Linked DNA regions of Homo sapiens: region 2 is linked to region 1. Evidence: promoter capture Hi-C in 16 types of primary human blood cells and fetal thymus (Javierre and others, 2016). All regions are on one chromosome and are shown on one strand. Each heading gives the region's core, a stretch centred on a gene start or on the middle of the fragment in contact. The rest is flanking DNA. Distances are from core to core; before and after follow the strand shown. Region 1 holds the start of ZNF521 (zinc finger protein 521). Region 2 overlaps ZNF521 (zinc finger protein 521).

Region 1 (7,333 bases), core at 1,827-4,326:
ATTCCTTCACGGGGTTTCAGAAGCTTCTTGGAGCCCTTTCCACCGGACAGGCACTAACCGCTATCCTACTTCAACTCGGAAAGTTCTTCTTTCCAAGTGACTAGGAAGAGGTTTGTCCTGGTACTTCGCTCAGCGTTACTTTCAAGAAAGCCGGGGTCTCGGGCAAGTCTCGCCGGCGCGAGCCTGGTCCACCGTTACCCTGACACCCGCGCACGCCCGTGGCGTTTCTTTTTTCACTGTCGACACTTGGATCTTTCAGGCCCTGGGTCTAGGTTTCCCCCAGAAAAATGAGGGGCCCATGTGACGGAAACCACCAGACACACTGTGTGGAGACACATGCCAATGATTCACCTCGTTCCCGAACTAAAACTTCTGCGCTTTAGGAAAAAAGCAAGCGTTCCAATCTGCGAGGCCCTCCCCCACCCCGTCCCTTCCCAGGAGAAGAAAGAAAGGGCTTTGTGTGTGCGGTGAGGGCTCCGTTCATCGAGTTCAAAAATGCACAGCGGCCGGGGGCCGGGAGGCGTGGGGCGCCGGGCCCTGCCCACCCCTTTTCCCCGGGCCGGCGGCGAGTCGGGAAGCTGGTGCGGGAACCGGGGCCACGGGGCGCCGCGGCCCGGCAGCCAGGAGGAAGAGGATGCTGCGCCGCCGGGGACCAGAGGGCGGGGCCGGGCCGCGCGGACCTCGGCGGGACCCAGCGGGCCCGGGCGGGCGCACCAGCCGCCCTTTGTCCTCCGCCTCCGGGTCGCGGGGGCCGCGGCCGCCTCCAGCGCTGGCCCCCTGGCCCTCGCCCCGGTTCCCCGTCCTGCCCGCGCGCCCCTCCTCCGGCCCTCGCGCTCCGCCGCCCGCCCTCCCCGCTCTCCGCCTCGGAGCGCCGGACCTCGCGGCTCCCCTCGGCCGCCCGCCCCCGATTTCCTCGGAAGGAGGCTCGCGAAGGTGGAGGAGGCGGCCGAGGAGGAGGAGGAGGCCGCCACGTGACTCTCCTCGCCACATTCCAACACAGCCATCAGATCGATAACTTCAGGGACCCCCGCCCCCGCCGCAGCCAGCTAGTGCGCCCCCAAAATCCCGCACGCACGCCCCGCAACTTCCCTCTCCAACAGGGACGACGGAGAGCTGGACCCCACCGCGAAACGCAAAGGACTCCAGGGGCGGCGGGGAGAAGTAGGGGCGAGGGGCGGTCAACTTCTGGGAATGGCCAAGAGGGGTGCTCTGAGGCCCGAGCCGGGGTCCGGTGCCCGCGGCCGGCGGCCGGGGTCTGTTTACTCCGGCGACGTGCGGAGAGGACCCAAGCAGGACGCGGGCGGGCGGGAGGCGGCGGCCGGGACCCCGGGCCACGTTTGTCACGAGCGGGGGCTGCTCCCCACCTCCGAGATGACTTTTTTCTTCTTCCAAAGAAAAGGAAAAAAGAAGCACCGCACGGTTTTGCATATTTATTCTTTGCGAAAACACACAACAGAAACTTTTTCCTCCAGCCCAGATGTAGATCTCAGACGGGATATTTTTTTTTCCTCCCTCTCCGGATAATTTCGTTTCTTTCTCTCTCTCTCTCTTTTTTTTTTTCGGTTGTTGTTGTCTTTTCTCGCCCACTTTCTACCGCCGCCCCATTCGGGGATCCTCCTCCCGTCTTCGTCTCCCCCCACCCCGACACCTCACCCTCACTCCACCTAGGGGCTCAGCGGGGAGGGGAGCGCGCGCGCCCCCGCACTCACACTCACACTCACGCGCGCACACGCCTCGCAGCCACGCAGCCCTCGCTCCGCTACCCACAGTGACACTCGCGGATGGGGGAAAGCGGGGAGCAGGGGGTTCCTCCTTACCTTTGAGGGATCTCGGTTTCGCTTGCTTGCGGCGAGACATCCTAAAAGCAAACAGCTGAAGTTGTTTCAATTCAGCCCTGAAAGAAACTATACTTCCTCGTGGCCGCGCGCCCCTCGGGCCGCGGCGCCTCGCGCCCTCCGCTCGGCCTCCCTCGCGCCCTCGCTCCGCGCTCCGCTCCTCGCTCCGGCTCCGGCTCGCGCTCGCGCGCGGGGCTCGCGGCTGCCCGAGCTCCGCGCTCTGCACGACGGCGGCGGCGGCGGCGGCGGCTGCTGCACCAAACTTTCCCAGCCTTCGACCCCCACCCCCAATCTCCAAGAAAAAAAAAAAAAAAGGAAAAAGAAAAAAGGAAAGGAGGGAAAAAAAGCTAAAAAAAAAACCCCAAAGACAATGTTTGAAGAGCCGTCAGCTACACTAAAAAGAGAAAATCCGTTACTATTTCCACCTCAATCAAAATTCACATAGTTCATGCGAATAGAAAAAAACTAATAAAAAGAAAAGCGTCTGGGTGATTTTTTTTTTCTTTACCGCTTTTCCTTTTCAACAAATCCGCCCCCCCCCCCACCGGAAAAAAACAAATAACACTGATTTGTTTACAAAGCGAGTCGTGCTCTTTTGTAGTTGGGGGGACGAGGGGGGGAAATCGACCCTGCAAGGCGATGAAAAGGTCTTGGAAAGAAAAATCTCCCACCATCCGAGGCAGATGCGAACGGGCCACGAAAATAAGCAAAGGGAAAAAAATACTTTTTTTCTCCCTTCCCCCCACCCTTTTTTTCTTAACCCACACTAAAGTAATTTCTTTCAAAAAGAAAAAGCCAAAGCACCCGAGCCGACGGCCCCCAGGTGGTGTGCGGGGCTGCTTGTGTGCAGGGGGTGTGCGGGGCCCGGGCTCGGGGCGCCCCTCTCTGGGCGGGGGCGCGGCGCCGGCGGCTGGCGCTGGACCGGGGCTCTAAAGTCTACGGCTGCCTCGGCAGCGGCGGCGGCAGCAGCGGCGGCAGCGGCGGCGGCAGCGGCGGCGAGAGCAGGAGGAGGAGGAGGAGGAGAGCCGGGAGCAGGAGGAGGAGAAGGAGTGTGCTGTGTGCTCCCTCCTCATCACAAACCTGCAAGGTCTTGGACTGCGCTGTCGCTCCGGTAGTCCACATAATAATGGAAAATGGAAGCAAGGCCCCCAAAGCCATCAGGATGGCTCCAGAGGGGGCCCCTAACCCGCAGGGACTCGCTCTGTACGTAATCACTGAGGAAATCATTGTCAGCCTGCCTGCACTCACACACAGACAGAGGGGCATGATTAAAAGGCGAGAGCGCGGGGAGCGGGAGGGAGGAGGGGGCCCGCCAAGACCCGGACTGGAGGCGCCGGCCGCGGCGCGCGGATCCGGAGCCAGGCGGCGGCCGAGCGCCCCGAGCCCCGCCCGCCGCCGCCGCCGCCGCCGCCGCCTCCCACGCGCCGCGCGCCCCGCCCGCTCCTGCGCCGCCGCCCCTCGCGCCGCCCGCCCGGCCGCTCGCACACCCCGCGCCGCCGCCGTCGCCGCCGCCGCAGCTGCGTTATTAGAGCTCCACGGCGGATCTCGGGGCTCTTCTGCTCGCTTTTTTTCCTCTTCAGAAATTAAAGCAGAGGAGCATCTGAAAGTGGAAAGGTCCCCCTTCTGGTAGGATGGATGTAAAAGGAGGCAACAATTTGTTCTTGAGGGGGCAAAAAAAAAAAAAAAAAAAAAGAAAAAGAAAAAGAAAAAGAAAGGAGGGGGGAAATTCATTGCTTGGCTTTTGCATTGTCGGACTTTAAAAAAGTGTGTCTGCTGTTGTTGCCCGGACTCGGGAAATCTTTTTTATGGCAACCGCAGACCTGCCAAGTCTCTCTTACTTGGAATCTTTATAAAGGCAAGTTATTTGGACTTTTTTTTTATTTTCTCGTTTAGAGAAAGTCATTGATGCTGACGAATGTCATAATGTGATTCAAAAGAGACAGCTTTGAGTTCACTTTTTTAACATTCTCAAATTGACATAGATCTTTGTCCAGAAAATAAAGCTTTCTGTTGATTTTTTCTTTAAGCAAGAGGTAAGGAAATATGCACTTAAGAATATGTGTACAAGAAAATAGTTTCTAAAATAAATTGAAATGTCTGCAGGTCGGTGGGAATTTTTGTTTCTTTTCGCAGTTTTGTTTTCTAACTTTTCACCTGCTCCCATCGCAAAACAAGAAACCATCACCTGTTTCCTTCTTTTACCTTATCTTAAGGGAAAGGATGTTTTAGTATTATTATTGTTGTTGCTATTTATTGATTGGACACGCTTGTCAAGTTATAAATGCCTGAGAGGGCTACCAAGTAGAGCTTAGATTCACAAGTCTTGGTGGAAATTAAGAGATTCAGAATACGGTTAATTACACAAAACAGGCAGAATTTTGTACAAATACTATTGTTCTTAATCAGATTTTAAAAATTCTCCGTTCTGTAAAATTAAGGTACAGCTATCTATTAAGCCACCATGCAAAGACATCAAAGCTTTAAGGAAGTTGTATTTTTTCCAGTCTAACCTGTAAACTGCCTGGACCCTCATGTGGATAGCTGCAAATACAGTATGTTTTTTTTCAATATCTTCATTATAATTAAATGAGTTTTCAATCCATCTGCAGTAATTCCTAAAGTGAAATCATAGTTGTAGTCAAATTTAACTTTGCATGACTGTGAAATAAAGCAACTTTTGTTGCAGAATCTGTGTTGGTACATTAAGGATTCTAGATTTTATACATAACCTTATACATTCATTTTCACAGAAATCATTCAGAAAGGGAAAAATGTGTAAACACCAAGTTTTTACAAGACTTTCCTTTCGTGTGGTAGCCATATGTGTGCAGAATACTATGGTGCCATGTATGTGTGGTCCCAAGTTATGTGTGATATTATCTAAAATATTGATGGCATCTAATCCTGGTTTTATTGGAAAGTGAAAAATTGCTAACGTAATACTAACGCGTACCCTAATTTGTTAAAGTTTTCTATATGGGTTGATTTTTTTTGTTTCTTTCTCAAAGTAGTCTACTTTGCTTTACTCTAAAATTGTTCTTTCATTTCCCAATGTTAGTATTTCTGTTGCCTTCCTCTATTAAGAGATAAATAAAACCCTTAGCTCAGAGATTTAGATCTGGCTCAAGAGCCTGATATTTCAGTTTGGGATAGTACTGCATAGCATTTTAAGGGAGGTTAAAGCACCAACCACCCAAAAGACAAACATAAAAACTATTTTAACCTAAATCTGTCAAATATTGACCTATACAGATAGGTAAAATGCTTTTGAAACGTATCTTTAAATACTTTAATTTCCTCCCCCCAAGTTACCAAGGGGGGGAAGATCATTGATTATGTTTCTAAACATAAACCCCAACATCCACCCATGAAGCCAAAGCCATCATCTCTGAGCAGAATGCAGCAACTTTGTGAATATTTGGATGCTGTTGTTGATGATGGGGTAATAATGCATAAAGAACCATGTGCAAGGAATTTTACTAAAGACAAGACAAATATTTTCTTAGGTCTCATTAAGGGGTCTTGAAGTCCAAGATAAAACATCACCCATTCTACCTTTTGGAGGGACAGATCTGGTAGGCAAAACTCCCACTGATTTCAGCATCCCTTACCACCGTATTCCATGTGAATTAATCAATTATGTGGAATTGGTGAGCACTTGGATTTCATTAAACACTGCTGAGTAGCCTCGCAATTACTTTCCATGCTTCGTATATAAACAGACACCAAAAATGTAAACTGTCCAATTCACCTGATAGAGGCTACACAGATGCTAAAGAAGGAAAACTAAGATTTGTCTTTCTTTGGACGATGCGAAAAAGCATAATTAGCCACTGCAGAAAGGTAAACATGCCTAACTGATAAACATTTTTTCATGCTTAACAAAATTCATTTTGGGAATAGTAAACTACTATATATTCAGTTATTTATCCCCCAACTTTTAAATGTATTATTCTCATTCTTAAAACTGGAAACCAGCTACAATGAGAACGTCATTCATTTTCATTCAACAGTTTTTTGAACATCATCATCCAACAAATTGTGCTGTCCTCCAAATAACCTATTTAACATCTCCTGAATAACCAGCAAAAACATATAAAGCTTATAAATTTTAGGTATTATTTACAAATAACCTGAATAGTAGTATAAAGTTTAAAATGAGACAGACCCTTCATTACCGAGTTCTATTAAGAACTTAAGTAGCTACATAATTAAACTTTCCATTTCGTATTAACATATGATTGATTTAACTTCTGGCTCTTTTCATGCATTGACTCCACAGCACCTACTTTTAAGATATTTTGCACTTTTCAGAATGTCTTGCATTGGTGAAACAAACAATATCTGGAACTGAGACTCTTACTTGAAAAAAAGATTAACGTTTTTTCAACTGTTAATTCCAACAATAAAGATATTGCTAAAGGAGGGATTAATGTTAAAGGAAACCTGTGTCCATGAAACTTGACCTCAAAGGAATTAATTACAGAAAACACATTAGGTACCAGTTCAAGTAAATCTCCAATTTTAAAATGTCAGTTGCAAAGCATAAATTGTCTTTGATAAGTTATAAGTAATAGTGTCAAAGTTGCAATCTGGCATCTAAACCAATTACAAAGAGAATACTCTGCTCATAATTTTATATAAATATCCTTAGCACATGTCTACTTATCTGTACAACAATTTCATGTAATATTTTAAGATTTTCAAGACCGATTTCGGATTTTTTTTAATATTGAAAGTTAGTTCAAATCTAGTGTATTACCTGCCTGAGTAATATGACTGTATCAGTCATATTACTCCACAGAAGCTTTCTTTTAAAGGAGGAGCATTTTTAACAAGAGTTAAATTAAAAGTCCTATGAAAGGGCAGTTTAATCAAAGTCCATCTGAATCTAATGTGTGTGTCTGTGTCTGTGTGTTTAAAATATAAAATATATGTGTGTGTTATATATGTATATACATCCACGTATATACATATTAACACATTATTGTTAGAACAACATATAAGGGACTTTTAAATTAACATTTGTGCAAAGTATTAGTGATGCATTTGGAAAGGCAATATTTTTAGTCCACAAAAACTATACTCAGTTCCCAGTTCCTTTAATTGTCCACCATCTAATTCTCAGTAAGTTACTTAATATCCATCCTGCATACTCATAACCACACTCTACCTCTTAATCTATGAAATGGGTAGCAATGTTTGAATGCAAAAGCATTTAAGAACGTCACATGGAAAAATCCACATTAAATATATAAATATGGCAAATGTATTTTGTCATTATGAATAACAAATTCTATTTTCAATCTTTTTTTAGTCTTATTTACTTGACTTCTTTTCTTTCATAAAATCTGAGTCATTAAACCCCTTTAAAAAAAATTCTGATACAGATGCGTTGAGGACTTTTCTACTTGGTGGTGGACTATATCCAAAAAGGTAAAGTTTTTTAAATGCACACTATACATTATTCATTTATTTTATAATACACGAATTCATTG
Region 2 (7,333 bases), core at 1,568-4,067, 250 kb before region 1:
GAAAAGCCATACATGACAAAACTCACCCCTCGGCTACATTGGCTCGCCCTAGAAACCAGGAGTAGAAAAATAGGCAGACTGCAGTATAATTTGCCATGCACACAGCCATCACATTCTTTCCAGGGCCATAGCACTCAGCCACGATAATTTGTTGTATTATATACAGCACATGTTTCATGACTGTAACATAAACACACTGTGGTGCTAATTTGGCAATGGAGAATATGACTTAGGCTTCAAAGTCTGCCGGTAGATTAGTCATTAAGCCCCCAAAGTAAGGCAGAATTTGAGAGAATTGCATATTGTGGGAACGTTTTTTCTCATACCAGTTAAAAAGTTCTGCCCTTATTTTTTTTGAACGAGTTGCCATGAAAATGAATGCAGCCTGAAGACCGACGCTAGCACCTTCTAGGAGTTTTGTCACTGGCAATATGGGAGTGTCTGGCACTGTCAGTATTTCTACGCCACATGAGAGAGGAACAGAAGACACAGGCATGAGACTCTTACAATAAGAGGAAAAGGACACTGGGACATGAGGAAATGAGCTCCAGGTTCCTGGACCCTGACTGTGTGCACAAAGTGCCTAACCCTTAGGTATCTCAAGAGCCGCAGGATACACATCCTGTGTGCCTCAGTCAGAATCTCACTTCCAGGAGATCTACAGGTGCAAGCTTACCTTAACTTAGTTACTGGCTGTTTTTAGCCAATGGTCTAAAGGCTACAATGCTTTTGGACTTTATAAGCAAAGCCACTGATATTGCCACTGTTATTTCCTGCCTTGAACTTCTCATTATCAGCAGGGCTGGAGCAGGAAATGATTCAACTGGGGTAGGCTGCATGGTACCCAGCAGATTTTAAAGAGCCCGGGGGCTGCCTAGAGCCCCATAAACATCAGCAGCTTGGAAACTAGCAGGAGGTCCAGGTGGGTAGGGAGAGGAGAGGCAGGCAGTGGGATTTTAGATGCTCTGAGATGCAATATCGTCCAATTCCTTGGCTATTATTATAGGTTGTGTGAAGTACTTATTAGAATATTCTCATGTAGGAGAAAACATTGGAATGTTGTTCAAACAATAAACAGTAAAACAAACAGCCCACCAAAAAGGTGGCTTTCCTTCAACTGAGGGGACTCAGCAGTGGTATTTTGGCACAAGTAGGGAATGGGGATAAGCACACAGACTACAATGTTTTTCAAACCTGGCCAGTACATTAGCTCCTCTAGTTCCTTCTTTTCTTCTTCACATTCTGAATCTAAACATGGACCCCATGGTTGAAGTCTCAGAGAAAACATGGTGCCTACAAATAGCTTTAAAGGTAAAACTTTGCCCTCATTTTTTTTTTATTAAAAAAAAACTGCAAACACCAGTTTTGGAAGGGCACTGATAAAATCACTTTGATTCTTCCTCTCCCCATCCCAAGAAAAAAATTGTTAGCCAAGAAAAGAAGAAAGTAGTGGATATTTCTTAGCAAATATTCTGGAAAAGGCAAGGGCAGGGATAAGGACGGGAGTGAGGACTGAGACCAACTAAGTCTGATGTATGTCCTCCAGGTTTGATTAGATATTGGAGTTGCTTTTAAACAACTTGGATGTTGTTAACACAGTGCCACTGTGTTGCACTGAAAAGGATCCAGTTTACTTGAACAGTCAATTCTCCCCCTCATTTATACCCACTTGAATACAGGAGAGTACATTTTTTCTTTCAAAAAATTTTTGTCACCTAATCTTTAGTGCTGTTCTGTTCTCTGACTTGAAAGAAAGTTTGTGAGCACGCAAATACAAGTATAAAACATTTGTTTCCATTTCACATAACAGACTAGATGAATGGAATGATTGAAGACAGCAGTGTTTCCAATTCAGCAACGCATTTCAGTTTTTGCCTTGCCTACAAAGAGTGGTGTGTGGCAGCTCTGACCATCTCAATGCCATAAGAGTGTTGAGAACTCAGTTTGGGGTTATTCACCTATTCTTGCTACAGTGCAAGTTCCAGGAGGGCAAGGGTATTTGTCTGTTTTGCTCATTGATGTACACGAAGTACCTAGAACAGTACATGGCTCATAGCTGGAACTCAATAAATATTTATTGAATTCATGGGAAATAACTACTTAGCAAACCCTATATTTAATTTCATCAGAATAAAATGCCAAGACTGATGGTAAAACAATATCTATTGTTTGTCAGTTGGGTTTCAAAATTTTGCTCCGTTCCCTTGTGCATTAAACCCTGTGCATATAACATAGCGGACTGGCAAAATCCACCTTACAGTGCTTGGCTTCTTTATTTCCCAAAATAAGATGAAAATACTCTGGCAAATAAAGCATTAACAAAGTAGCTGTCTAATTTGCCAACTTATCCCTGGCAAGAAACTGATAAGCCAAAACTTATCCCTTATTTCCAGAAGAAAAATATTATTATGTATCTTATATCTGAAATACCAAAAAGTGCCATATCAAAGAAGGGATAATTACCTTTTATTTGTCCCAAGTCATAGAGAAGTCTCTATACCGTACATCCATGACCAATAAACAATTTTTATTAATTGTCTGTATTCTCATGTTACAAAGCTCCATTCTTTTAATTAATTGGCTAAACCAGATGTATATGCATTTATTATACTCTTTGTTTAAAATTTCTCTTGTTTGATATCAAATACCTTCTATTAATGCCCTTACATCTGGGACTTCCGGCAGTAGTGGAAGTACAGGTATATTTACCTTTGAGTACTGTACAAAACCCCCACAAATTGGTAAGATCGAAAGAGGATAGTTCATGCAGCATAAACTAAATGTAACCTGCTTTAAAGTTAAATCTATTGGGAAAACATCTTTGAGAACTGAGACAGTGCAAGAGTCAATATTAATTCCACACAGTGGGGGGCCCGCAACACAAGCCATGTGCTGGACACGGCACTCATCAGGCATGTTTTCCTGTTGCTGTGCTGAGTTTATGGCAAGGGTCAGGGCCTTTTCTTTTTTTCTTTCTTTCTTTTTTTTTTTTTTTAATCTTCTTCTTCTTGGCATAAAGCCACTAGTTATCTGAAGGAGAAAGTCTCCAAACACTGAAAAGCTGTTTATCCTTGCTAGAAAGCACGGCTTGCTACTGCTGATGATTTTTTAAACAACAAAAGCAAATCAAACAAACACAAGAAATTGAGTGAGGTTCAACAGCTTCTGCAAATGTTATGGTCCTTGACAACCATGGGTTTTAAGTGCTCACAGGTTTAGATGAGAAACTAAGTCAAGCATTTTCAAAGCTAATTTTCTTTCTAAGAAACTATATTATTGATTACTTATTGCAAAGATGACATCTTCTCTCCTTCTGATTCTGTTTATTAATAGAATCACAGTTCACCACAAAAGCACACGTCATATCTGCAATGGCACATGGGGGTGTTAAGGGGGCCAAAATCTCTCTAATTTCCAAGGGGCTCAATCCTGCTCCTTTCACTTTGTGGCAATGGTAAGAAAACCATTAAGCAGCAATGCAAAAATCACAATACTGCATGCTATTTGCAAATGAGTCACATTTTTATTGTTCTATTGGTGTGACCTTAGAAACTTGGCCTTGAAGAATTAAAAAAAAAAAAGGTAATGGCACAATAAACGCAATAAGATTTCTAAAAACAGTTTATTGGAAATGTGCTGTGAAACTTGAATTCTTCTAATCAAACGATGCCACCCCTTAGAGAAATTTGCCTGTGCATTATTAAAGTGATATACTGCAGTACTAGTTAGAGCTCCATAACCTTTAAATTGCCTGATTGTAATTAAGGCCACTAGTTTTATTTAGGAAGGTTCAAGGAGGCTCAATTTAAGTTGGCTTAACTAGTGTGAATTTAATGTCATGCTGCCAGAAGGCAGAGGAGCATTCTGGCCTGGCTGTTCTGTGGCACATGCAGCTGTGGGGTCATGTATTCTAAATTAAACCCAGATTTTAAAGAAACTACAGATATCAGTAAATAGCTGGATGTGTGTAAATAAACGCCCCCATGTTTGCATGTGTACATCATTCATTCTTTCATTCAGTCATTCAGTATGCTGGCAGTTTTCCAATTTAGGAATCTAAATACAGTTGGCCCTAGAACAACATGGTTAGAACTGTGTGGGTCCACTTACCTGCAGATTTTTTTCAACCAAATGTGGACTGAAAATATAGTACTCACGGGATGTGAAACCTGCATATAGGGGTTCCACATATACTGAGGGACTTGTGCATGCATGGAAGTGGGTATCCTAGAATCAATCCCCTGCATATCCCAACGGACAGCTGTACAGCTGATCATTTACAGAATGAGGAGAAGGGGTTTGTAGATGTTTTTAAGGGCATGATGACCCCTTTCACAGAAAGGCATGGCTTAAGGCAATCTCCAGTCAGCATTAATGATTTAAAATGAAATGTGCATGTAACAAAGTTGTAAAGGCAGGAATCTTACTATAAATAAATTCTAGGAAGGAAAATTTATAGTCAGGAATATGAGGAGAAAAGAAAAGGTATTCTTTGGACAGGCCACTGAATGGAGTGCTGAGAACAATATGTAAACTTCACTGAAAGGGCAGCAAATCAAGGACTGAAACAAAAGATGAAAGAAAATGTAGGTACTCAAAGCACAGACTAGCAGAAGCAAAGGGAAGCAGCAGGGAGAAAACACTTACAGATTTGACCCATGTTCAAAATTTTACTGGATGTGAACTCAACAACATTCATCTCTGGATAGAATGCTGGTAATTTTCTGTAGCTCCAACAGCAATAATGATAAATGAATTTCTTTACAGCCAAGTGGCTCAAGCAGCCAACTACGTTACCACTATATAATTAATAACAATAAGCAATTAAAGAGAACAGCAGGTTACAACTATAAGGTGTCAAAATATATCAGCAAAGGAAAATACAGCAATGATACACTTAAAAGAAAAATAAATGTACAGCACATGAATCCATGTAGTGTCTTCTTCCAGACTATATTTTGGATAAAGCTTTTATGTTTGAAGAAAAATAGACGATGGCCTAAAACTACTATAAAGCAATTAATATCCCTCCAAAAACAAATAACACTCCTAATGCTCAGAGAAATCTGAAATGTGATATGGGACACACGACTGGGAAGGCACACAAGAATTGGCTGGCTACTATTTGGCATTTTTTTTAAATTAAAAGATAATTTTTTAAATTAAAAGACATTCTAATAAATACCTCACAAAACTGTATTTTTTGGCTTAAGTATTTTCAAAGATTTTCATGTAAAATTGAGGAGAAGCAAGCAACGAGGAGAGTGGAGGAAAAAAGAAAGGGAAAGAGTCAACATGGTACATTTGGCTGAACACTGGAGCACTGGATAAAATTTAGAAGGAGCTTGGAGATGCTCTAACTAAGGACTTTTTTAAAAGATGAGAAAATTGAGACTATATATATATATAGTTTTTATTTTTATTTTTTAGAGTAAAGGGGTCTTTGCTCTGTTGCCCAGGCTAGAGTACAGTATATGTGCTCATAGCTCCCTGCAGCCTCAAGCTCCTCGGCTCAGGCAATCCTTCTTGAATAGCCAGGACTACAGGTGTGTGCTGCCATGCATGGCCTGAGACTATAGATATTAACCAACACACCCATGACAGAAAAGCCTTATGGTCATGGCCAGCACCAGAATTCAGGCTTCCCGAATCCAAGATTATACTGTCCCACCAACCTTCACTTAAAAAAGAAGTTATTTCCTCCCTTAGTACAATGTAAGTTGTCAAGGAAACAAAACAGCAGTTACTGTTTTCTAGATCTCTTATTGATGTGCAAGGAGCTATTTCTATTTCCATGCCAACCTGGTGACGCCTTTGCTCCCTGACAAATCAAGGCCTGAATTTATTCAAATCCACCTCATCCCCCTATGTCTTAAGCAGCTACTGTTAAAGTCTCTCTCACCCCTTGAAAGCTTTTCTTCTCCTTTTAGGGAAGGGAAGCCTAAGTTGATGTGATGCACCTGTTGGAAGGCTGGAAAATTTGGTTATAGGAAGTTAAATTTCCCATAACTAGAGATAGAGATATCTCTAGATATGGGGAATTTTATCTCCCTAGATGGTGCTCCTAGAGGGGCTAGGTAAAGCACTTGGGTCTGAGCTGTCAGTCTGAAGGAAATCTTCCCGATTATACAACCTGTGATGGAGTGGCTGAACGCTGATGCTCTGTATGACAATAACCCAATGATTTGCTTAAACTGTTACCCAAAACCCTGTGGAGGCTGGGCTTGAGTGCTCCTTTATGGAGTTATAATTACTCAAAAACAAACACTGATTTCTTAATTCTATTCTGCCTATAGCTAACTGTACTTCTTCAAGTACCTGGATCATTCCCCGATATAGTGTTAAATTGAGTGTTTGAGAAGAAACCGAGACTGCATGCATAACCCAAAGTGTGTGGCTTACTAGAAACATAACCCCATACTTACGTATGGAAAATAGGTCAGCTCAATATATTCCTAACCTACTTTTCTCTCTTGGGCACCATTCTGGATACACTAGCACATCTAGACACTGTATGCTGAAGCCAAGATGTTACTGGCATATCAATGAATCATACTCATTTCTAGTTCCTTCTGCTGTTTTCTGTCAATCAAGAGCTATCTAAGTGAGACAGTTGTTATCCTCTGTGATGGGAAGAGAGAAGGAGTAAGGGAGGGAAGAAAGAAGGGTGAGAGGAAGGAAGGGAGGGAGGGAGGGAGGGAAGGAGGAAATAAGGAAGGGAGGGAGGAAGGGAGGAAGGAAAGACAAAAGACTCGTGGTAAGAAAGATTTCTTTCTCATTTCTACTTAGTTATGAAGTGTGATGAAGAAGTAGATGTCTCTGGGTATTTTTGCTATGTCAAAAACCAAAGCTAAAGACTATGAAAAAGGGCCCAACAAAAACCATGGATTAGTTAATAAGTCTATCTGTTAAATAAAGAATGAGACATAATAGTTATGGAGTGCTCTTTCTCCGATGATAATTCCTTATATTACCTTCTTTAAAGCTATTAAATATTTCTAAGTCTATAATGTCAAATTATAAATATGTCTGGGGCACAATAAATTTTTAATCCCCTATCTTTATGACAATTTTTCTATAACCTGAACCAGCTCATTCAAGATCCACTTAAAAAATTTAAAAATTGTATACTATGTCAATATAAAGGCTGATAATGACTCTCCTAACACAAAAGGAAATCTACTGACATAATCTCACTAAAATATCTGTCAATGGCCTTAAAACATTTTATATATTTAAAGGCTCTGTTTTGCCTTGCATGATATGTGATACAATAAGCACAGAATTCCAATGCTGTCTTAAACAATCTAAGTAGAAGTCTGATGCCAAGGAC

Evidence for each region. Contacts are between HindIII fragments. The CHiCAGO score rates a contact against its expected background, and 5 or more counts as called.
Region 2: a fragment that was not itself captured here is called in contact with the fragment with the promoter of ZNF521 in region 1 in 1 of 17 cell types (megakaryocytes); the score reaches 5.1 in megakaryocytes.

The regions. Positions count from the first base shown.
Region 1 is chr18:25,349,090-25,356,422 of GRCh38, forward strand. ZNF521 (zinc finger protein 521) reads right to left here and starts at 3,077. Exons shown (of 8, transcript NM_015461.3): 1 at 2,916-3,077; 2 at 1,818-1,858. The coding sequence starts at 1,857. RefSeq lists a silencer at 3,103-3,172. The HindIII fragment of the contact is 3,815 bases long and covers 22-3,836 here.
Region 2 is chr18:25,097,113-25,104,445 of GRCh38, forward strand. All of the region lies in intron 5 of ZNF521 (zinc finger protein 521), which reads right to left. Among named protein-coding and RNA genes, the nearest start is that of LINC01894, 110 kb to the left of the region's middle. The HindIII fragment of the contact is 4,297 bases long and covers 670-4,966 here.